Linked DNA regions of Homo sapiens: all the other regions are linked to region 1. The links are contacts of gene promoters, found by promoter capture Hi-C in blood cells and fetal thymus (Javierre and others, 2016). All regions are on one chromosome and are shown on one strand. Each heading gives the region's core, a stretch centred on a gene start or on the middle of the fragment in contact. The rest is flanking DNA. Distances are from core to core; before and after follow the strand shown. Region 1 holds the start of SLC16A14 (solute carrier family 16 member 14). Region 2 overlaps CAB39 (calcium binding protein 39). Region 3 holds the start of ITM2C (integral membrane protein 2C). Region 4 overlaps CAB39 (calcium binding protein 39). Region 5 overlaps GPR55 (G protein-coupled receptor 55). Region 6 overlaps CAB39 (calcium binding protein 39). Region 7 overlaps CAB39 (calcium binding protein 39).

The links. Contacts are between HindIII fragments. The CHiCAGO score rates a contact against its expected background, and 5 or more counts as called.
Region 2: a contact is called between a fragment that was not itself captured here and the fragment with the promoter of SLC16A14 in region 1, in 1 of 17 cell types (naive B cells). The highest score is 6.2, in naive B cells.
Region 3: the fragment with the promoter of ITM2C here is called in contact with the fragment with the promoter of SLC16A14 in region 1 in 1 of 17 cell types (total B cells); the score reaches 5.9 in total B cells.
Region 4: a contact is called between a fragment that was not itself captured here and the fragment with the promoter of SLC16A14 in region 1, in 3 of 17 cell types (total B cells, naive B cells and total CD4 T cells). The highest score is 10.0, in total B cells.
Region 5: a contact is called between a fragment that was not itself captured here and the fragment with the promoter of SLC16A14 in region 1, in 1 of 17 cell types (total B cells). The highest score is 5.4, in total B cells.
Region 6: a fragment that was not itself captured here is called in contact with the fragment with the promoter of SLC16A14 in region 1 in 2 of 17 cell types (naive B cells and total B cells); the score reaches 7.2 in naive B cells.
Region 7: a fragment that was not itself captured here is called in contact with the fragment with the promoter of SLC16A14 in region 1 in 3 of 17 cell types (neutrophils, naive B cells and total B cells); the score reaches 6.0 in neutrophils.

Annotation. Positions count from the first base shown.
Region 1 is chr2:230,067,285-230,070,683 of GRCh38, reverse strand. It overlaps SLC16A14 (solute carrier family 16 member 14), which reads left to right and starts at 1,760. Exons shown (of 5, transcript NM_152527.5): 1 at 1,760-2,129. The region is part of intron 1 of LOC107985995 (a long non-coding RNA gene); the gene reads right to left. RefSeq lists enhancers at 1,697-1,756, 1,767-1,886, 2,282-3,052 and silencers at 2,117-2,386, 2,657-2,906. The HindIII fragment of the contact is 4,045 bases long and covers 1-3,263 here.
Region 2 is chr2:230,801,688-230,804,745 of GRCh38, reverse strand. The region is part of intron 5 of CAB39 (calcium binding protein 39); the gene reads right to left. Among named protein-coding and RNA genes, the nearest start is that of ITM2C, 62 kb to the left of the region's middle. The HindIII fragment of the contact is 4,096 bases long and covers 1-3,058 here.
Region 3 is chr2:230,863,650-230,866,852 of GRCh38, reverse strand. ITM2C (integral membrane protein 2C) reads right to left here and starts at 1,911. Exons shown (of 6, transcript NM_030926.6): 1 at 1,708-1,911. The coding sequence starts at 1,827. RefSeq lists silencers at 712-811, 1,602-1,691, 1,792-2,161 and enhancers at 595-1,251, 1,252-1,910, 2,569-3,203. The HindIII fragment of the contact is 7,451 bases long and covers 238-3,203 here.
Region 4 is chr2:230,757,483-230,760,969 of GRCh38, reverse strand. It overlaps CAB39 (calcium binding protein 39), which reads right to left. Exons shown (of 9, transcript NM_016289.4): 2 at 855-1,011. The coding sequence starts at 968. Among named protein-coding and RNA genes, the nearest start is that of CAB39, 46 kb to the right of the region's middle. RefSeq lists an enhancer at 1,951-2,050. The HindIII fragment of the contact is 5,262 bases long and covers 1-3,487 here.
Region 5 is chr2:230,911,855-230,915,232 of GRCh38, reverse strand. The region is part of intron 1 of GPR55 (G protein-coupled receptor 55); the gene reads left to right. Among named protein-coding and RNA genes, the nearest start is that of GPR55, 12 kb to the left of the region's middle. The HindIII fragment of the contact is 1,588 bases long and covers 883-2,470 here.
Region 6 is chr2:230,783,441-230,786,816 of GRCh38, reverse strand. All of the region lies in intron 2 of CAB39 (calcium binding protein 39), which reads right to left. Among named protein-coding and RNA genes, the nearest start is that of CAB39, 72 kb to the right of the region's middle. The HindIII fragment of the contact is 5,725 bases long and covers 1-3,376 here.
Region 7 is chr2:230,819,159-230,822,259 of GRCh38, reverse strand. It overlaps CAB39 (calcium binding protein 39), which reads right to left. Exons shown (of 9, transcript NM_016289.4): 9 at 1,185-3,101. Among named protein-coding and RNA genes, the nearest start is that of ITM2C, 44 kb to the left of the region's middle. The HindIII fragment of the contact is 3,617 bases long and covers 1-3,101 here.

The DNA of each region.
Region 1 (3,399 bases), core at 511-3,010:
CGCCTTGGCCTTCCAAAGTGCTGGGATTACAGGCGTGAGCCACTGTGCCCAGCCTCAATAATTTTTAAATCAAGAGTTGATATAAGATTAGCTGGGCATGGTGGCACGCTCCTATAACCCCAGCTACTTGGGATGCTGAGGCAGGAGAATTGCTTGAACCTGGGAAGCAGATGTTGTAGTGAGCCAAGATTGCCACTGCACTCTAGCCTGGGTGACAGAGTGAGATTCCATCTCAAAAAAAAAAAAAAAAAAAAAGAGAGACAGAATTGATATAAGAAATAGCAATATAGGCCGGGTGCAGCGGCTCATGCCTGTAATCCCAGCACTTTGGGAGGGTGAGGCAGCCAGATCACTTGAGTCCAAAAGGTCAAGACCAGTCTGGGCAATATAATGAGACTCCGTCTCTATAAAAAGTCAAAAAAATTAGCCAGGCATGGTGGCGTGTGCCTGTAGTCCCAGCTACTCAGGAGGCTGAGGTGGGAGGATCACCTGAGCCCAGGAGGTTGAGGCTGCAATGAGCTGTGATCATGCTACTGCACTCCAGCTTGGGTGACCGAGGAAGGCAATGTGAAATACATGTGAATTTTTTTTCAAAGAAACGAAAAAGAAGGAAGAAAAGAAAAAGGAAAAGAAGAAAGAAGGAAATCTGTGGTAGGCAGAATAATGGTCTCCCAAAGATGTCCACATCCTAATCCCTGGAACATGTGAATTTGTTACCTTACATGGCAAGAGGGGAATTAAGGTTGCAGATGGAATTAAGGTTGCTAATCAGCTGACCTTAAAATAGAGAGATTATCTGGATTATCTCATTGGACTCAATGTAATCCCCAGGGTCCTTAAAAGTGGACAGGGGTGGGGGCAGAAAAGGGGAGACAAGGCAATGTGAGTATGGAAAGAAGACAAAATGACGCAGCAGTGCTGGCTTTGAAGATGGAGGAAGAGCCACCAGCCAAGGAATGTGGGCGGCCTGCAGAAGCTGGTGGCTCTCCCCTACAGCCACGAGAAGGAACACAGCCTTCAAGGTGGCCAACACCATGATCTCAGCCTAGTATGACCCATTTCAAACTTCCGACCTCCAGAACTGTAAAATAGTGAATTTGTGTGGTTTTCCTCTGCTATTACTGTGGCAGTTTATCACAACAGCAGCAGAGAATTACTGCAAAACCTTCAGGCGGGAAAAAACAGCACAGGCTTCATCGACTCACACATTCACTTCAATAATACAGAAAACTGTCCAAGGCAAAGCACTATGTTGTGTGCCCTGCTGGGAATGAGGTAGGGAGGTATTGAGATGAAAGTTGTGCCTGGTGCCCACGAAGGTAGGTAATGGACGTGCAGAAAGAGCAGGGAGAGGTGGGACCCAGGGTGGAAACAAGAATGAGGGACTGGCCGGTCACGGTGGCTCAGCTTGTGATCCCAGCACTTTGGAGGCCAAGGCCAGAGGATTCCTTGAGTCCAAGTGTTCGAGACCAGCCTGGCAATATAGTGAAACCCGTGTCTCTAAAAGAGAGAGAATAAGGGACTTTGAGTCCTCTTTGGCCAAAAATATTTCAGTGAGGGTCTGTTTCATCCCTTCTCTCCCATCTCAGAGAAATGGAGGCTACTGCTAGTCTCACTTGCATCCTGGATTAGATTTCAGGACCTTTCCGCCAGTGATAAATGTGCAGCGCCTTAGCGGAACCTCAGCCAAAGCTATAAACTTCAACCGGCCACAAGAGTGTGCATGTGAGGTGACTGCATTTTTTTTCCCTGCCAAACCAGAATTAGCCGGTATAGGAATGAACGAGCATGAAGATTTGAAATTGCTCCGATTGGAAGGAAGCCCAGGTTAGGTTTGGGCACCTCCAAACGCACCCGTTTTAAAGCCACCTGGACTGAGGCGTCGAGCTTTCAGCTCCACCAAACGCTCACCTGGCCTGGCAGCGAGCGGCGGAAGAGCCCGGGAGCCCCTCACAGAGCGCACCGAGCCGGGCGGAGAGCTGAGCCGCAGGCACCCGCGTCTCCAGGATGATAGGCGACATTGCAACAAATCTCTACACCCAGCAGCTCAGGGGGCTCCAAGCAGAGCAGCAAGTTCGAGGATCCGGGCGTGGAGCCGAGTGAGGCCGCAGCCCAGCGGGCCTCGGGCGGTGAGTATCCGAGGCCGCGCGCGCCGCGGGCCTGGGGAATGGAGCGACGCCGGGGGCATCGGAGCCTAGGTTTCAGATGGCCGCTGCACCCCCAGGGACCCCCGGGAAGGGGCAGCCCCAGCCCAAGGCAGGCTCGGGAAAGGCTGCCCGGGCGGTGGAGGGCGAGACTGTGCCGGGGCAGGTGGTAGTGCCAAGGCCGCCGCGGGGGCTTGGGAGCTGCGGGCGGGCAGGGTAACCGGCGGTTCAGGGCAGACCGCCAGGCGGAGCTTGGGGACGCGCGCCTTGCTGCTCAAGCTGGCCGGGGCCCCGCGAGCGTCATCCTGGGCACCCCCGTCCGGCTGGAGAAGCGCGTTCTGCCCGGAGCCCAGCCTCGCTGCCCGGCTGCTCTCTAGGCCCGTTTGGGACTCGAACTGGACAGTGATGAGGCGCAGAGCGGGGGACCCGGGGCTGCGCCTAGGGACTTCGCGGGGTGCGGATGCCTCTCTGCACAGGCTGTGGTGCTGCAGCCGGCCCAGCTTCCCCGGTGGGCTGCTGGCTTCCGAACGCGCCGAGGGATGCGGGGTGCCCGAAGTGGGGATGTGGTCTCGGGGTGCCAAGGGAGCGGGAGCACCGAGCGCGGGTGGGGGCGGGCGCTCGAAGGGTGGGGCGCGAGGCCGGACCCCGCGGGCACGATCCCGCACCCAGGGCGCGCAGAGGCTGGGCCCCCTTAGCGCTTCCGATTGAGGCTCCTCAAGAGAGGCTGAAATGGGGTGAGAGACCGGGGACGGCCATTTCGGGGCTAAACGCTGCCAAGGCCATGACGATGTTTTAGGAGCTGAACTCTGCTTTCCAATTAAGCCATTTTCTTTCTGAGGAAAAGTTGATTCGGGCTCATTAACAAGGATGACTGAGGGCCATTATTGGGGCTTAGAGAGATTCTCCTTTGCCTTGTCTGGCTTCTTTGTTTGCATGTGCGTGCGTGTGCGGCTGTGTGTGTGTGTGTGAGAGAGAGAGAGAGAGAGAGAGAGAGAGAGAGAGAGAAGAGAGGGGAGAGAGGCAGTGTTGGGGGTGGGAGGAGGTAAAACAGGCTTGGGATCCTGCAGGCCTGGGTTCCGATTTGGTTTCCACAGCCTGCTAGTTTAACCTTTCTAAGCTTCATTGCTCCCATTTGATGGCTCAGATTCTTCCTCTGTAAAATGCGGACATTCATGCCAATTGGACTGGAGGAGAAGCCACCAAGCACAGTCCCTGACCCAGAGCGAAGCATGTATGTGTTGAGTCCTCCTAATTC
Region 2 (3,058 bases), core at 435-2,934, 730 kb before region 1:
GTTTCCTGACTTTTTAATGATCGCCATTCTAACTGGTGTGAGATGGTATCTCATTGTGGTTTTGATTTGCATTTCTCTGATGACCAGAGATGATGAGCATTTTTTCATGTGTCTGTTGGCTGCATAAATGTCTTCTTTTGAAAAGTGTCTGTTCATATCATTTGCCCACTTTTTGATGGGGTTGTTTGATTTTTTTCTTGTAAATTTGTTTAAGTTCTTTGTAGATTCTGGATATTAGCCCTTTGTCAGATGGGTAGATTGCAAACATTTTCTCCCATTCTGTAGGGTGCCTGTTCACTCTGATGGTAGTTTCTTTTGCTGTGCAGAAGCTCTTTATTTAGATCCCATTTATCTATTTTGGCTTTTGTTGCCATTGCTTTTGGTATTTTAGTCATGAAGTCCTTGCCCATGCCTATGTCCTGAATGGTAGTGCCTAGGTTGTCTTCTAGGGTTTTTATGGTTTTAGGTCTAACATTTAAGTCTTTAATCCATCTTGAATTAAGTTTTGTATAAGGTGTAAGGAAGGTGTCCAGTTTCAGCTTTCTACACATGGCTAGCCAGTTTTCCCAGCACCATTTATTAAATAGGGAATCCTTTCCCCCATTTCTTGTTTTTGTCAGGTTTGTCAAAGATCAGATGGTTGTAGGTGTGCGGTGTTATTTCTGAGGCCTCTGTTCTGTTCCATTGGTCTATATCTCTGTTTTGGTACCAGTGCCATGCTGTTTTGGTTACTGTAGCCTTGTAGTAGAGTTTGAAGTCAGGTAGTGTGATGCCTCCAGCTTTGTTCTTTGTGCTTACGATTGTCTTGGCAATGCGGGCTCTTTTTTGGTTCCATATGAACTTTAAAGTAGATTTTTCCAATTCTGTGAAGAAAGTCAGTGGTAGCTTGATGGGAATGGCATTGAATCTATAAATTACCTTGGGCAGTATGGCCATTTTCATGATATTGATTCTTCCTATCCATGAGCATGGAATGTTCTTCCGTTTGTGTCCTCTTCTATTTCGTTGAGCAGTGGTTTGTAGTTCTCCTTGAAGAGGTCCTTCACATCCCTTGTAAGTTGCACTCCTAGGTATTTTATTCTCTTTGTAGCAATTGTGAATGGGAATTCAGTCATGATTTGGCTCTCTGTCTGTTATTGGTGTATAAGAATGCTTGTGATTTTTGCACCTTGATTTTGTATCCTGAGACTTTGCTGAAGTTGCTTATCAGCTTAAGGAGATTTTGGGCTGAGATGATGGGGTTTTCTAAATATACAATCATGTCATCTGCAAACAGGGACAATTTGACTTCCTCTTTTCCTAATTGAATACCCTTTATTTCCTTCTCTTGCCTGATTGCCCTGGCCAGAACTTCCAACACTATGTTGAATAGGAGTGGTGAGAGAGGGCATCCCTGTCTTGTGCAACTTTTCAAAGGGAATGCTTCCGGTTTTTGCCCATTCAGTATGATATTGGCTGTGGGTTTGTCATAAATAGCTCTGATTATTTTGAGATACGTTCCATCAATACCTAGTTTATTGAGAGTTTTTAGCACGAAAGGCTGTTGAATTTTGTCAAAGGCCTTTTCTGCATCTATTGAGATAATCACATGGTTTTTGTCTTTGGTTCTGTTTATGTGACGGATTATGTTTATTGATTTTCGTATGTTGAACCAGCATTGCATCGAAGGGATGAAGCCCACTTGATCGTGGTGGATACTCTTTTTGATGTGCTGCTGGATTCAGTTCGCCAGTATTTCATTGAGGATTTTCGCATTGATGTTCATCAGGGATATTGGTCTAAAGTTTTTTTTTGTTGTGTCTCTACCAGGCTTTGGTATCAGGATGATGCTGGCCTCATAAAATGAGTTAGGGAAGATTCCCTCTTTTTCTGTTGATTGGAATAGTTTCAGAAGGAATGGTACCAGCTTCTCCTTGTACCTCTGGCAGAATTTGGCTGTGAATCCGTCTGGTCCTGGAGTTTTTTTGGTTGACAGTCTTTTAATGATTGCCTCAATTTCAGAGCCTGTTATTGGTCTATTCAGCGATTCAACTTCTTCCTGGTTTAGTCTTGGGAAGGTGTATGTGTCCAGGAATTTATCCATTTCTTCTAGATTTTCTAGTTTATTTGCATAGAGGTGTTTATGGTATTCTCTGATGGTAGTTTGTATTTCTGTGGGATCGGTGGTGATCTCCCCTTTATCATTTTTTATTGCGTCTATTTGATTCTTCTCTCTTCTTTTTTATTAGTCTTGCTAGCGGTCTATCAATTTTGTTGATCTTTTCAAAAAACCAGCTCCTGGATTCACTGATTTTTTGAAAAGTTTTCTGTGTCTCTATCTCCTTCAGTTCTGCTCTGATCTTAGTTATTTCTTGCCTTCTGCTAGCTTTTGGATGTGTTTGCTCTTGCTTCTCTAGTTCTTTTGTGATATTTGGGTGTCAATTTTAGATCTTTCCTGCTTTCTCTTGTGGGCATTTAGTGCTATAAATTTCCCTCTACACACTGTTTTAAATGTGTCCCAGAGATTGCGGTAGGTTGTGTCTTTGTTCTCATTGGTTTCAAAGAACGTATTTATTTCTGCCTTCATTTCGTTATTTACCCAGTAGTCATTCAGGAGCAGGTTGTTCAGTTTCCATGTAGTTGTGTGGTTTTGAGTGGCAGAAACCATCTCTTTAGACATACTTTCTAGAACCTTACACAGGCACAGTCTGGTGAGGCTACCTTCTTTTATTCTAGAACATTGGAAACATTTTTGGCTTTCTAATGCCCCTCTCCATCTCCTTAATTCCTCAAAAAAGAAAAAAAAATTTACAAATATTTGGCCATCTGGTTTACTATCTGAGCATCCATTTATTCAAGCTATGAATTTTGGACATATTTAGAGCATTTTTTTTTTTTTAAACAGAGTCCCACTCCGTCGCCCAGGGTGGAGTGCAGTGGAGTGATCTCGGCTCACTGCAACCTCTGCCTCCCAGGTTCAAGGGATTCTTATGCCTCAGCCTCCTGAGTAGCTGAGACTATAGGCGCATGTCACCACAACTAATTTTTTGTATTTTCAGTAGAGACGGGGTTTCATCAT
Region 3 (3,203 bases), core at 662-3,161, 800 kb before region 1:
GAATAACACCCTCCCACTGTCTGACCTGGTCCTCCCTCCTCAAATATCTCCAGGAAGAGGTGGCTAGGAAAAGAGATGGGCAAGCGTGCTGCCTCCTGCCCCCATCCCTGCCCCTCCCCAGGCTGAGTGGAGGGCAGCTTCCCTTCCAAAGAAAAGGAGTCTTGAAGAACCCCTTGCAAACTTTTAAAGCTGCAGAACCATCTTCTTCAAATATGGAGCGCCCCCTCCACCTAAGCTTCAGATGAAAAGGGGGGAGCTGCTCTCATGGGGTGCACAGCAACCCCCAACCTCGCCTAGGTGGTTGTTGAACTCTTGTGGCTCTGAGCCACTGGTTGCTGCAGTGACCACCATAAAAGGGCAGGGGGTTCTCAGTCTCCTGGCATTCCTCACTCAGGGTCTCTGCCCAGGCTGACACCCAACTCTGACGGCCCTCTCCGGCGCCCCCTCCTCCAGGGTCCAGGTCATCCTCTGCAGGCCCCTTAATGCCCCAGGCAAGACTGAACCTGAGCCACAAAACCTGGGGAGGGGGCTAGGCGTTCAGGAAGACTCTTCAGAAGCCTGCATCTGGAAGTGGGGAAGCAGTGGACAAAGACTTTCTCAGTCCTGCCTCAATGCGGGGTGGGGAGGCGGGGAGGACATGGGCTTGGTAAGCCACAAGACCGCTGGGGGCGGCGCCCACGTAGACACCTTTGCCAGGCACAATAAAACCTGGCTGGGCCAGCTCTCCCTCCCTCCCTGTCCCTGCCCGCCACGCGTTCTGCCCCCTGCGGGCCCTTCCCGGACACAAGGCACGCAGCTCAGACAGTTTTCCACGGCGGAAATGCCTTCTCTCCCCCCCGGCCAGAGGGAAAGTGGAGGAAGCCGGGGTAGGGGAGGGGGATGACAGGGGTGGGGGAACGCGCACAGAGCCCGGGGACCCAGGATGCAAGGGCACTGGGGCAGTTGGGAGCCCTCCCCGTGGGGTCGGGGGACAGCCCAGCGAGAGGCTGGGAATGGAGAAAAGAGAGGGGAGCAGGGAGGCCCAGACGGCAGGGCGTGGGGTGGGAAGGGGGCACCCGGCCTCGGACCCCCGACGTCCAGAGGCCGCAGCGCCGTCGGTTCTGGCTGATTTCCATTTCATCACTTTCTGGTCTGTCAATTCCGGTGCAGGCCAGCAGCACATCCTCTGTCCCTCGCAGCCCCCAATTTCGGAGGAAATCAACGGCCCCACCCTCTTCGTTGGTACCAGACCCCCCCACCCCCAATTCCCCAGCCAATCAGGTCCCACCGCCCTACTTTGGAAAAACTACGTCTAACCCTCCTCCCATCCCCCACCTGGGGACTCGACTCGCGGCTTTCCCAGTTGATTGGAACCAGACGCGTACCCCCCCACCAACATTCCTCGAACTTCTTCGGACCAGCCCCCTCCCCCTATAAGGCGGCGAGGGGGCCCCCACTTTTGGAAGAGACCTCGAGCACTTCTCCACCTGAAGACCAGAACCAGACGCCTCCCACTCTTCGGACTTCAGCTTTTGGCTGCCGCTTTAGTACGGGACTTAAGCCCCCTCCTCATTCTGGGATAAGCAACCATTCGAGACTTCCCAACCCTGCTCCACCCCGGGCTCTGGGGCCCTGACGCGCCTCGGGCAGTCCCCAGGGCCGACGGGGCGCGCCTGGGTCGTGAGCCTGGGTCCCCCGCCCCACCGCCTGAGCCCCAGACCCTCTCACCCTAGCCGGCGTCAGCAGGATCTCGGTGGCCGAGGCCGGCGCAGGGGCCGACGCCGACGCCTTGTCAGCCTTGTCGCCCTTGATGCCAGCCACGGCGGGCTGGAAGCTAATCTTCACCATGGCTGCGCCGGCCCGCGCGTCCGCCCCGCAGCCTCTGCCGGTGCAGCCTCGGTCTCTGCCTCCGCCGCTCCGAGCTCTGCAGGCACCGGAAGTTTGGATCCCGCTCGCGTCCCTCTCTCTAACCCCACCCCCAGCCCTCCCCGCCCCGTCCCCGCGGGAGGGCCCCGGCGCCCGCCGCGCCTGCGCCCCCTTCCCGCCCGCGGGGCCCGCAGTGACCCCTGCCGGGCGCGCCGCTCCGCACCTGGGGCGGGTCGGAGTTCCTTCTGCCGCTCGCTCGCACAGTCACTCACTCGCTCGCTCACTCACTCACTCACTCACTCGCTCACTCATTCATTCAGCCGTCACGCTCGGATCCGTTCTCCGTAGCATAATCCCTTCGCATTCCCTGTCCAAGGCCAGCATCCCCGCAACGCAAGTCTTTGTTAACCCAGTGTTTGCCAGGCAAATGCAGCTTCCAGACAACTCACCCGTCTCTCCTGCCCCACTTCAGGTCTTCCCCTTTAGAAACGCTGGAGCCTCCGCTCTACCTGTCCCCACGCCCCCCTCCTCCGACCTGTCCTTGGCGCGGGGAGGAGGCTTTGAGACAGGCGCCAAACTGCTGCCTCCGTCTTGCCTTCTGAAGCCATCCACGCCTCCTTCATCCTCCATCTTGCTTCTGCCTTCATTCTTTATTCCTGCAAAACCTTCCTGGGGGGTCCTGGGGTGCACGCTGGAGCCGCCTGGAGTGGAGAAGGGAAGGCCGCCCCTGCTCCCTGGCTCCTTCGTGTTGCTGCGACCTCAGTTATTGGGTGACCTCCTGAACTGCCCTTGTCTCACTCATCCAGGAGGACCCTGGCGAGAGTGGAGGGAAGACCCCCAGGGCGGGTGTCAGAGGCTCGGGTTCCACTCAAGACTCTGCTCCTCCCAAGTATCACGGGTACTGGGGAAGCAGGGGCTTCTGTTGCTGGGATGGCTGCTCTTGGCACTAACGCCCTGAATCTTTCCTCTTTGCTCCTGGTCCAGACTGGGCCAGGGACAGCGCCCAGCAACACACACAGGTTGTGCTGAGTGGTCCGCTTTGGTTCTGCTGTTGGGCTGCCAGTGGAGGGCAGGGGAGTCCGTCCGCTTCTTGAGGACAGTCCGGGGTCCTCCACTGATCTCTCTTCTCACCTTTCAGGTCTTTTGCAGCTGCCTTGGGCCCTTAGCGCCCACGTCCCAGACCCGGACCTCTTGGCTCAGATCTTGGATGAACCTAGCAACCTTGAGGACAGACAGGTGGGGAAAGAAGAAAGTCTAACTGATGCTAAGGCCACCAGCCTGGGGAACTGGGGGGAGGGAATGGGGAGGTGGAAGAAGACAGATGGTTTGGAGGAGACGAGGAGGAATCTGGTTTGGCA
Region 4 (3,487 bases), core at 626-3,125, 690 kb before region 1:
GAAGATCCTGTGTGTTACAAGAAGAATCTACACTGAAAATGTAAAGCAGAGATTTTTAGAAAGTGCAGTAAGAAGGCTACTGCTAAAATCACAAAGAGTATGAACAACTTCTTCAAGAAGGAATGGAAGTCAGAACTGAATCATAAACAATTTAGGGAGTTGAACAAGATTTAGTGAAAAATTATATTTTAGGGAAGAGAGGGCAAGTCACAAGTGGGATGAAAGTTGGGTTTTGGACTGTGGTGACTGGGTAGATGGAGGCATTTGGCACGGATACACTGAATACAGGAAGAAAACCAGGAGGGGTGTCCTCCCAGGAAGATTGTGGGGGAAGAACCGATTTCAAGAATCAGGTAACTGTGGCACTTATAGCTCTCAAGTTGCCTGCTTGGCCTTCTTTCAAGTATACTTTACTTCCTTTTGTTCTTGCTCTAAAACTTTTACAAACAAACCAACCAAGCAGATAACTGATAACTGTAATCCTAGCACTTTGGGAGGCAGAGGCGGAAAGATCGCTTGAGGCTTGGCGTTTGAGACTAGCCTGGGCAACATAGCACAACCCTGTCTCTACAAAAATAATTAGTAATAATAAATAAATAAATTAGAATCAAACACTTCAAGATGAAATAAACACAATTTAAATAAACTCGAAAACCTGACAGAACAGTTAGAAATCTATTTGTTAGACGAAAATACAGAAGAAAAAGTATGTTGCAACAGCAGCATATGTTGCTTTTGGATGTTATTTTTAAAATCCAAAATAAACCCAAATTGGGACTTACTGATTCCTCATATAAGGTGTCTTGCATTTGCTAATTAAGATATTTCAAATATAAATAAAGCCAAATCCATACCTTTTCTGCTTTTTTATCAGAAATGTCTTGCTTTTCCAGAACAGCCATGCTCTCCTTCAGATTCTTCACAATGTCTGCTGGAGATTTGTGAGACTTCCCAAACGGGAACGGCATGACGGCAGCGGCAGGGGCCTCCGCTGCACTCCGCCTGTGCTACCTAGAACACAGCACAAGGTTCATGTGAGCAAACACTGGGATCAACGGAAGACAGACTTTCTAAATCCTAATCTGGGAAGAAAACCCGTGTTTAGGCAAGTCATTTTACATAACTTTCAAAATCAGTAGGAACAGGGAAATCCACAAATATATGCAAGAAATGATAATACACAGATGTCTTAGAATTACAGAACACTGTATTTTTCAAAACACTTTGTTTTTCTTTCCTTCAAATCAATTGCTCTCCTAACCACGCAAATGGGGACGAACATGCTGACTGATGCTGCTGAGGTAGAGAGCAGCAGCTCCCACTCACAGGGCAACTGCTACTGCCAGGCCTGATGCTGAGCACTAGAACTCATCATTTCATGAAACCCTTTCTAACAATCTCCTGCTCCTATTTACTGGTGAAGTTTAGCAAGGTTGAGCGTGAGGCTCAAGGTACTAAGTGGTCAAACAAGCTCAGATCTGTCTTGATCCAAAGCGTCCTTAATCACCACACTGTACATCAAATTGATAGTATCTATTTTACAGCTGAGGCAACTGAGGCAAAAAGTTAGGTAGGGTGTTTAGCCAAACAGCACTAGCAACAGCCTACTATCTAGGTCTCTCCAGATGCTCTTTTCCCGGTGTTCACGCTGCTCCTCCTAAGCACCCCAGTGGGCTGCCCTGAATATGGCACACACTTCCTCGGCACACCCATCTTATTCAGGCAGTCACAGGGTCTCAGAGCTAGAGAGAAGCCTGGACAGGGGAATAAAATCTCCCATTAGATCCTGTAATCCCCTATGTGACAGTTGTCAAGATGTACTCTTTTTGCCTGGATTTGACCATCTCCTATGAAAGAACTCGCTGGATAAAACCCTGAGGATGATGAACTTCTAGAAGTTCTTAATTTTTTGTGGGTAGTAGAAAACAACATTTCAACCACATAAACCACAGTATTACATCATCCAAAAGGAGAACATGCAACTATTCCAAGAAGGCACTATGAAGAAACAAAGTTAACAAGACAAACAATGGAAGTGACTTGGGAACATGTTGGAAGTTACCATTTTTCAGTAAAAAAACTAGAAGTAGTTAAATTCACAGGCACTAAACAGTCTCCTATCAGACACCGAAAGATGACACTTTTTAGAAAAACCTTATGGATCACTTAGATCAGTGGTTTTCTGACTGTAAGTTTCAACATCCTATATTTAACTGCCCAAGGTGCTCCCCACACACACCCAAGAAAAGGTGGCTCTCAGACACCCCAACCCCACTTTGTTTTCCCCTTCTATATAAACACAAAAATACATCCATTGCATAGTATCATAACACTTCTTTTGAGCTTTACCTAAGATTTGATGAACAAACTTGAGTGTTTTTCCCTTAAGTTTGAAATAGAGTGACTTACATATTTGTTTATAAAGAATGTTTAAAACATGCAAATGAATGCTAATGTCAAGCCTACAACTAAATCATAAACAAGTATGTTATTTCTCAACATGTTCTGATGTGAACTGTTCCAACCAATCTCTAACCCCAAATATTGCCTATCTTACCTTCTGTCACCTTGTAAATCCTTTTTTGACAAAATTAACCAAAGAGAAATAGTTTAATGCATATCCTTTGTCATAGGTTCTTAAATATCCAAGGATTTTTTTTTTTTTTTTTTTTGGAGTCTCGCTGTGTCACCCAGGTTGGAGTGCAGCAGCGCAATCTTGGCTCACTGTAATCTCCACCTCCCAGGTTCAAGTGATTCTTGTGCCTCAGCGTTAGCCTCCCAAGTAGCTGGGACTATAGGTGTGCACCACCAACCCAGCTAATTTTTGTATTTTTAGTAGAGATGGGTTTTCACCATGTTGGCTAGGCTGGTCTCAACTCCTGGCCTCAAGGGAGCCACCCACCTCGGCCTCCCAAAGTGCTGGGATTACAGGTGTGAGCCATCATGCCCAGCCATAAAATCCAAGGATCTTTAAGTCCACTTCTAAATAACTTTTCTATGCCTAAAAGTTTGAACTGACGTTAGGGGAGTCACTCTTAACTAGCTGTCATATGATCGCTCTACAAGCCAGATGGGACACAAAGCCTGGATCATTCTTTTCCTTTTCCTGGATCATTACTTTTTCCTTTGGGCAGGGGAGTGGGCGGCAGGGGGTGGGGGGGAAGCATGCAAGTTGCTTCTCCATAAACAGTGTATCACACTCACAATATGTCCTCTGAAAATATTATCTTTCCTATCTGTAACTCTGCAAATAATAGCAGTGATGTGGAGGGTGGGAATGTTTAATGGTATTTTGCAGGAAGTGTTACGGTGCTATGCAACAGAGATATTTTCAGCTCTGGCTCAATGGTGAAAGATGTGACTTTCCAGGGTAACAGAGGTTTACAAGTCCTACCACATACCAAAAGTTGGTTACAGCAGAAAGAGTACAGCCACCAAAAAGAACACATATATAAAATACTTCTGTGTGGGCAAGGGGAGGCATGAC
Region 5 (3,378 bases), core at 427-2,926, 840 kb before region 1:
GGAATTCCAGAGAACCCACTCCCAGGGTCCCTGACCACAGTCAGTGCAGCTCTGCTGCTTCAGGTCCATGGTGATGTTGATGCTGATGCCACTCTCTTTGGGCTACTCCTAGCCAGTGCCTGAACTGGGCAGAGGCACTAGCCTGGGGCGATTTCTGCGGATGTGGGGCTCCTCCAACAGGCAACCTTTGCTCAGAGATGCCCCATGGCTTGGCCAAGAAGGGCTGAAATCTGCACTGCTGTCTGAAGTCCTTCCCACCTTGTTGTTCCTTCCCTCTCTCCTTCCACAGAGTCAGACCTGCAGGTGGTCTGAAGGCTCACCCCACCTCCTCCTGCTCTCTCTCCCAACTATCCTTCATGGGAACTTCCCCTGTTTAATCTCTGAGTTGTCTAGCATTGTCTTAGCATCTGCTTCTCAGGGGACCTGAGGGGACTCAACCTCCCACCCAGCCAACTACAGTACCATTGCTTGATTGGGGTGGACCCCTGGGTTGGCCAGAACAGGAGCTGCTAATGGAATGGCCCCACACCCCACAAGTAGCAAATGGTGCTAGTTGCTGCCCCCCGCCCCGTTCCCCTCCCCCACCCACAAGTAGACTGGTTTTTATTAGCAAACTTCTTTGAGAAGGATGACTGTTTCATCTCTTGCTGCCGTTTGGAGTGCATTGATGCCTTTTTTTTATCTTACTACAGTGAGGCTTCTGATTTTTTTGAAAAAGACTCTAAAAAGATGGTTTCCTTGGACTTTCAGAGGGAATTCAAATTAATTTTTCAGATTCTCTGTTCACTCTGCCATTAGCCGGCAGTATTTTTTCAACCTAATTTCTTCTTGCCAGCCCATAGAGTGCCTTCTCTGGCTTCAAAGACTACCCTCTGAGAAGCTTCCATTTGAAGTCTGTCGGTAATTCAAATGTGACCTTTAGAATAATCCTACCGGGGAATACTGATGGCCAAATTGTGTCTATGAATATACCTGCTACTGTCAATGGAGACTCATCCCAGCACCTGAGGTTGTGTGCTTTCTGTCAGATCACTTTCCTCCCGTTGTTATTCGTTTGTTCCCCCAATTCAGCCACACACTGTGTCTGGGTTTGGGTTGGACTTTGAGCATCACCGATTGTTTTCTTGGCCACTTTGAACCACCAGCAATACGGTGGATTCATCCATGCAGTTGGCCGGTAACAGCTGACAGTAAGGGCCTCTGAGTGTTGAGCTTTTGTCATTGGTGGCTCCTTTTTCTTAATTGGTTAGTGTGACCCAGACAAAGACAGATGTCCTCAGTTCCCTTTTCAAAATCTTATTGGATCTCTTTAAACATAAACTTGTATTCATTCTTATCTTTGTGGTTCTTGGTTTTCTGCTGTTTCTGGTCTTGAAGACAACTTCTCCAAGCCAATTCCATCTTCCTCTTTGGTGTTGCAACATTTTACATTTAGACTTGAACTGGGCTTTGACCTGCTTTTCTCATCATTTTTGAAATTTGCCTTGTGAGTTCCAAGCTATTCCAGTAATTTTTTGAGCTAGGCCTGTGGCCATTTCAGCATGTTTAGTGAGGAGGCGGCCACCCCACCTTGCAGATTCTGAGCATCCTGAGTAGGACCAGTTACTCCTACACACCCCTAGGAGGCACCATCCCCACAGACCACAGGACACCAAGGCTTTGAATAAGAGGAAGTATTTTTTCCTAGATCTCTCATTACATAAATCTGTGAGAAAAGTTAACACATTGGAAACCATAGAATCTTTGGAAAGCCACCAAATCAAGTAATGTATGTTAAATGTTTAGTGCGTAGTGCTCAATGGATGATATATATATGAACCTATAAACATCTATCTATATATATCGATTTTCTTTTTCATTAGAGATCAGAGAGGGCTTGGGAATGGTATTACATATAAGATCTTAAAACACACCCCAATTTTTTCCTCCCACGGGCGCCCAATAGTGATGAGAAACAATAGCAGAATGAGAATTCTGTTAGCAATAGCTGCACAGCAAAGAAATAAGTCATAGGAATGCTTATTGTGGAATTCATTGTTTCCTGGTAAAATACTGGAAACCTAAATGTTTATGAATAAGCTACTGGCTAAATGAGTTTTGGTATACCTACACAATGGGAGGCAAACAAGCCATTCATATATGCTGATATAGACCAATGTCCAAGAAACATTGATGAGCGAAAAAGCAAGGGACAGGGGCTCTAGGTATATTATTTCCAAATTTTAAAGAAGTCATACATGTATATGTATGCATGCATATATTTGCATATATGTATCTACTTAGAAAATGTCTGGGAGGAATATGCAAGAAGCTGTAAGCCATGCTGCCTTTGAAAAGGACAGTTGAGGCCTTAGGGTACAAGGAGGCTGACTTTCCTACGCTTGTTCTTTTGTTCTCTTCGAATATCTTATTGAGCGCCTGGAATACTTTTAAAATTAATAAAAAGCTATGAAAAATAATAACAGAAGCTTTAATTAATAACAGAAGTTTTAGGAACAGGTGCGGGGCCTCCCGCCTGTAATCCCAGCACTTTGGGAGGCCGAGGTGGGTGGATCACCTGAGGTCAGGAGTTCAAGACCAGCCTGGTCAACATGGTGAAAACTGATCTCTACTAAAAATACAAAAAATTAGCCAGGGGTGGTGAGCGTGGTGGTGCATGCCTGTAATCCCAGCTATGAAGGAGACTGAGGCAGGAGAATCGCTTGAACTGGGGAGGCAGAGGTTGCAGTGAGCCAAGATTGTGCCACTGCACTCCAGCCTGGGTGACAGAGTGAGACTCCATCTCAAAAACAATAAAAATAAAAATAAAAATAAATAGCTGCAGTGGTCACTAGTATGGGATTCTCTGGTGGGAGTCCATGCTGATGTCTCCTCCCTGATACATCGATATCTTGGGATCTCAGCACCTGCTAGCCAGGAAGTCATGGGAGGTGGGAGAGGCACAGGAAGGTGGGTCTCACGGCAGGACCTGGCCGCACTTGCTCACCCAGCTGCTTTCTGCCGAAGTGGTTAAGGAAGATGCCAGGCATAAATGTCCTTTCCATGCCATGCCCCTGTGCTCTAGTGAATGTGGCACATTCCATGTCTAAGGCCAGTCCAAGTCAAGTACACCAGCAGCATGGCCTCACATGTGGGGAGAGGGAAGAGTGGGTGAGAAAGGAGGGAGCAGGGAGGTGGGCAGAGGCGGGCAAGTGGGGAGAGGGTGGAAGTTGGGTCGTATTTGAGTCCTTCTAGCAACCTGGTTCTGGATGCCTGGATTGAACACTTGGTTTTTTCCTGCTCCAGGGCTACATACCTTGATGCAGAACCCCACAATGGCACTCACCCCCTCACCCCAAATTGACCAGGCTCGGACCACACCCCTGTGCAACCACACCT
Region 6 (3,376 bases), core at 412-2,911, 720 kb before region 1:
TTCTACTCCATTTTACTATCTCTATTCTTCAGATAATTCTCTTTGACAGGAAGAATCTGATACCTAATAGGTTTTGTGAATGCATTATCTATTGATTCTACACCAGTGACCATAAGTAGGAGGCCTCAGCCTCCTTTGCTTCTCTGGTTAGATCAAAGTTTTAAAGCTCTTAACAATTCTTCATGTACCTCAGTTTATACTTTATTATATGATTTTCAAATTTGAATTCAGACCATATTCTATTCTGACAGCAAAAGATGAGTAAGAAAGAAGGGAGGTGAATAACTAAAGGGTACAGGTTTGTGAGGTGACAAAATGTCCTAAAATTAACTGTGGTTATGGTTACACATATTTGTGAATAAATTAAAAACCACTGAATTGTACCCTTCAAATGGGTGAACTATACGGCATGTAAATTATATCTCAATAAAGCTGTTCCCCCCATCCCCACCCCACCCCCCAAAAAAAGGAAGGAAAGAGAGAGACAGGAACATAATTAGAAAGCTATTTATGGCTGGGTGTGGTGGCTCACGCCTGTGATCCTAGCACTCTGGGAGGCTGCAGCAGATAGATCACTTGAGCCTAGGAGTTTGAGACCAGCCTGGGCAACATGGTGAGACTCCATCTCTTTTTTTTTTTTTTTTTTTTTTTTTGAGACAGAGTCTTGCTCTGTCACCCAGGCTGGAGTGCAGTGGCGCAATCTTGGCTCACTGCAAGTTCCACCTCCCGGGTTCATGCCATTCTCCTGCCTCAGCCTCCCCAGTAGCTGGGACTACAGGCACCCGCCACAACACCCGGCTAATTTTTTGTACTTTTAGTAGAGACGGGGTTTCACCGTGTTAGCCAGGATGGTCTCGCTCTCCTGACCTTGTGATCCGCCTGCCTCGGCCTCCCAAAGTGCTGGGATTACAGGTGTGAGCCACCGCGCCCGGCCAAGACTCCATCTCTTAAAAAAAAAACACAAAAGTTAGCTGAGTGTGGTGGCATGCACCTATAGTCTCAGCTACTCAGGAAGCTGAGGCTGAGATCAGGAGGTTGAGGCTGCAGTGAGCTATGATTGCACCACTGCACTCCAGCTTGGGTGACAGAGCAAGACCCTGTCTCAAAAAAAAGAGAGAGAAAGCTATTTGTTGTACTTCTGAATTGAATGGCATTGTGGACTCTGTATAAAGCCCCCTTCTCTTTCAGAAGGAATTCCCTCACCAGCTGATACTGCACCCGCCACCTACATTAATCCTCATCTGCTTTTGGATCTCCCCACCCCCATGCGTTCTTAGGAACTCACCCTGCCTGTTACCTCACCTCCTCCTCACAGAGTCAATCTCCCCTCACCTAATTTCTTCCTATCAGTTTTAAACCTGATTAAGACTCCATTTGACAAAATCGAATAGGCCCTCCTTAGATTCCACAACCGCCCCCTGCCCCCCTGCCCCCCTGCCCACGCGCCCCTGCCCAGCTACTACCCACACCTCATAATTAAACCTCTCAAAACATTTGCCTGTATTTACCATAGTCCAAGTCTTTTTCCTCACTCACTCTTCAGCCCAATCCTTTTGGCTAGTCACTGACCTGCATGTCATTAAATACAATTGTGTGTCTTTATTACTGTGAGAAATGGGGAAGTTCTTTTTCAAAGATTATGAAAAGTCACAATTTCTTACTATAAGATTGCTGTGCACTATTAGTGTGTATATGTATGTATTCCAAATCAGCTCTCCTAGCTTGCTCCAGCATGCCTGGACAGAATTAGGCACACCGGAGCCCACAGTGCATGCCATTCCTTATTTGGAGATGCTTCCTTAACTAGTCCTGGACAACTTCCTTTTCTTTGTTCTGTTCCCCTTACCTATTTAAGAAAGTTTTAAACTAATAGCCAATAGGATAAAGTGTAAAATGTGAGGTCCTATCCCAGCCAATGGAAACTGGACACAGCAGTAGGGTAAACACGTCAGGTTATAAATAACTCTGTCTCCTTTGTTCGGTGTGCTCTCGTGGCCAGACAACTATTGAGTAGCACCCTTTCTGCAGAAAGTAAAGCTCTCTCTGCTGAGAGATCATTTCTTCCCGCGTTAATTCTTTTTTTCTCTTTTTCCCGACACCAAAAACTTCATTCCCAACAATTACACCTGAACTTTCCACAGGATTCGGAATTGCTGATTACACCCGCCTCTGAAAACCATTCTTCTGGTCCTCCGTGACTCACCACCATCCTTATTTTCCCTCCTAACTCTCTGGTTGCTCCTTCTCTGTCTCCTTTTTGCCTCATTCACCTTGGCTAGGCCATTTAAACACAGGGAATCCCGCAAGGCAGGGTACTAGGGCTTCCTCTTCTTATTCTCTAGACTCTTAAGTGATCTCATCCACACCCACTGCTTTAATTAACAGTTAAATGCAGATGCCTCATAGATTCCTATCTCTAATCCAGTTCTTTTCTCCCAGGCCTTATCAGTACCACTGGGCAGCCTTCTCAAAATGTCTCCACTCGTAATGTCTCAAGGTACCTCAAATCGAATACATCTAAAATAGAACTCAAGATCTCGCCCTAGTGCCTGATATCCTGCCTTGTTCCGTTTCATGTAATGATACCACTGATGATGTTACTACACGTCAGAAATTTAGGAGTCATCTTCAACTCTCCCCTCTTCACCTCGCCCCAATAGCTAACTCATCACTGACTCCCAAATCCATCCATTTATCCCCGTCTACCATCACCACCCAAATCAAAGTTCCCATAACTCTTGCCTAGATTAATATATCGTGTACTGACTGGTTTCTTTGGATTGCAGGGGGCCTAATGGGGATGCATTCTCCACATCACACCTAGAATTATCTTTTCATAACATAAATATGACTAAGACATTGCTGTTGCTTAAAATGCTTCATACATTATTGATGAATGGCTGAAAATCAGCATTCCTGATCACAGGGTTTAAAATTCAGATTACAAATGGATGTAGAGAAATGTGATGTTATCATACCATGAAGTCAAGGGATTCCTTAAAAGTGTTTAATTGAGGCAGGCCACAGTGGCTCATGCCTGTAATCCCAGCACTTTGGGAGGCCAAGGCAGATGGATGGCTTGAGCTCAGGAGTTCGAGACCAGCCTGAAAAACATGGTGAGAGACCCTATCTCTCCTAAAAATACAAAAAATTAGCTGGGCATAGTGGTGCATGCCTATGGTCCCAGCTACTTGGGAGGCTGAGGTGGGAGGATTGCTTGAGCCTGGGGGGTGGGGGTGGGGAGTGGTGCAGAGGTTGAACTGAGCCGAGATGGTGCCACTGCACTTCATCCACTGCCTGGATGGCAGAGCGAGAGCAAGACCCTGTCTCAAAACAAACAAAACAAAACAAAACAAAACAAAACAAAACAAAACTA
Region 7 (3,101 bases), core at 505-3,004, 750 kb before region 1:
TGGTTGACCGCAAGCAGACTGTCAACGGGTGAAAGCGGATGGTATTCGTAGAGAAAAGCTCCAGTGGGTCTTTCTGCAGTACTGAGATTGCTGACTGGGGAGAATCTTACCCTGTCCTTCATGTCTTCTGGAAACCAGATGGTCAGTGAGGACACAGCCATGGCCAGGGAGAAGATTCCTGACACATCCGGGAGTACCTGAAGGGCGGTGTGTGCTGGGCTGCCCGCTCTTCCCCTAAAGGACAACTTTGGCACGTTGGCAGGTGGGCTTTCTCATGACCGTGAGTGGCTCTAACCTCCAGCATGAACAAGGTATTGGGCACTGACTGCAGCCTCAGAGCACTTCCCGATCAGGACCTTGTTGGAGCCTAACTAGGAAGGCTGGGTGAGAACTGCACTACTCCTGAGCTGCCTGAAGTGCAACGTTCTGGAGCTTCTTTGGCAAGGGGAGGAGGGCATTTGATGGGGGATTGTGGTAGGAAGTGGAATTTGAGCTGAAGCGTGAATCCAGTCCTCAGCCTGGTGATCCTTATAAGTGGCCAAGTCACAAGTTATGACTTAATGGGCCCTTGTCACCTTTGGGGAACTACAACGTACAAGTAGACTGAACTACTTGACAGAAATAACAAATAGGACATTGTTATTCGGATGAAGTGTTTTTGGCAAGAGCATGTCCCTTGCCTTCACTCCAGAGAATAAGATTTCATTTACTGACAGGGGTTAAAGTCGAGGGCAGGGCTGTGAACTAAGGATTACGAGGCACCCTGGAAGGCAGACGAGGGACATTCTTTACGGTGCCAGAGTTCTTGTGCCTGCTTCCACGGTCCCCTCGCCTTCATGATCATTTCACATCAGTAACCTGTGAATACTCCGGGCCGAGTGTTCTAGTTTAGCCTCGCGGTGTTGCTAACAGCGCAAGAGAGGATCTACTCCTCAAACGTTAGGGTCTAAGAAATGGTACCATTAAAAGGTGTGATTTTACTCAGGAAGGGTAAGGAAAACATGAGCACGGGGGCGGTGGGGGGGAAGTGAAGCCCCTGAACAGGGAAAAAGGCAGACAGGAATGGGTGTTAACTGTCCCTCCACTTTCAGTTGGTGATAAAATTCGGGCTTGTGTGTCTCCTGATGAAGCTGTTCACAGTAACACAAATGCAACTGTCTATAACACATCATAAAGACAGACAATGCTGTTTCTCCAAAATTTTATTTTAATTTAAATTACAGGGCCAGCCAGATATTCTGATAAGAAATTCACTTTTCCTTAGGAGAAAGAAAATGCTTTCATGGCATTGTTAACAAATGTATACATCTCCACTTTTTTAAGGGTTAAAAATCACATTAAGTAACTGCCTTATGTAAAATTAAACCTTTATAACACAAAAACCACTTCCAGTATAATAGTCTTGGTAATATGAATATATTAAATGATCATAACTTCAAATGCAACATTTCAAACTTAAATGTTTTCACATTGTTTTGCTTAAAAACAAAACCCACGAAGTCTGAACTACCTTCAGATTCCAATGTAAGAGTAACATGAATGTTGTGTCTGACACGCTGCACCCTCACTTCTTCCACCTAAAAGGCTACGACCTCACTGCCAAAGTGGAAGCTGTTCTAGATGTGTAAGTTCTAAGAATGAGCTTGGCAAGAAGACGTTTCTTCCACTTGGTGTAATCCATGTTTTTACACTAACTCCATACACACAGCACTACACCACAAAGCCAGGACACCACATCACGGCCAAGTCTTCCTTCCTAAACATCCAAGAGATTTTTTTTTCAAGGAGACTAGATTGCCTTATTTCACACAGATTCTGGTAAAGACAGTCTTGAGAAATGCCAATTATGATGTAGACTGCCATTTTAATAAAAATAAAATATATCTATATTTTCTGGAGCTATTTTCCTAACTGGTGTTCCTGAAGGTTTAAAACCTGCTGAAACAGCAATTGGGAGGCCCATTTTACTGGCCAGTATATAATTCCATTAGTAAGAGAGGCTAGCAAAGAATAATCATATCAATTTCTTAATCAGCTGCAGCCATGCTGAATTTGAACTGGCAAACTCTGATTTGTCAGTTGTTAGTTGTGATCTTCATATCACTAAAATGAACAGATACCATTCTAATAACTTTACATAGATATAGTCTAGAAGACATTGTTCTGCCGTGGTCACAGTAACAAAAAAGTGGTGCAAAATCAGTTACTTTATAAATACTGATAATTTGCAGCATTAAGGAACAGGACATTAAAAAAAATAAATTTCCCCATAGGACACCTATGACTAGGAAGTCGTCTTTTCCTAAGAGAAGCCAAAGTTTTAATTATTCAGTTCACAACTATTGTACTGGGTTACTTAGTCTAAGAAAGAAAAGGTGCTCTACAGAGATTTCCCACACACACAAAGAATCAGCATTAATTTAGCATAATCTCTATCATTCACAGATCTGGCAGATTCATTAACTCATTTAAAATGAATAAGGCCAATAGGATGCAGGAAGGTGTGGCTGACTGAGCTCCAGGGCTGTATCGCAGCTTATTGATGGCACCCCATTAGGTAACTGAATACAAAGGACTGGTTTACTTTCTTTTTCTTTTAATGCTGTGATACTTAAATGTTAAATCAGCATTTTCATGTGATCTGAAGTATTTCAATTACATATGAGCATTCATTGTTTTTTGCAAAAACTCAGTATTAGGTAATAGTTACATACTACTACAATAACATTCCTCTGCTGTACAAATTAAACCATTTAAAAGAAATGAGCATTCTAAGAATTATATACAAAAGAAACCTTGAAGCAGTGTTGAAATGAAATGCAAGGTGTCATTGCTAGCTCTACTGTTTTAAAGTATCTTTGAAAAGTAAAATTAACAAATACCCTTCAACATATCCAGGTTTACAAGTCTCAAGAAAATCAAATGTCAAAAAATTCTAGAAAGCTGTGAAAAGCATATATACATTTTCCTTATGATCTTATGAGGCTTCTTTACACTTTTAAGAAGTTGCTAAGTTTCAGTATCAATTTATTCGCATGTCAACTTTAGCTGCCCCCAAACTCCCATTTTGGATAGCTCCCCTCTGATTTCAGATAAAGCTC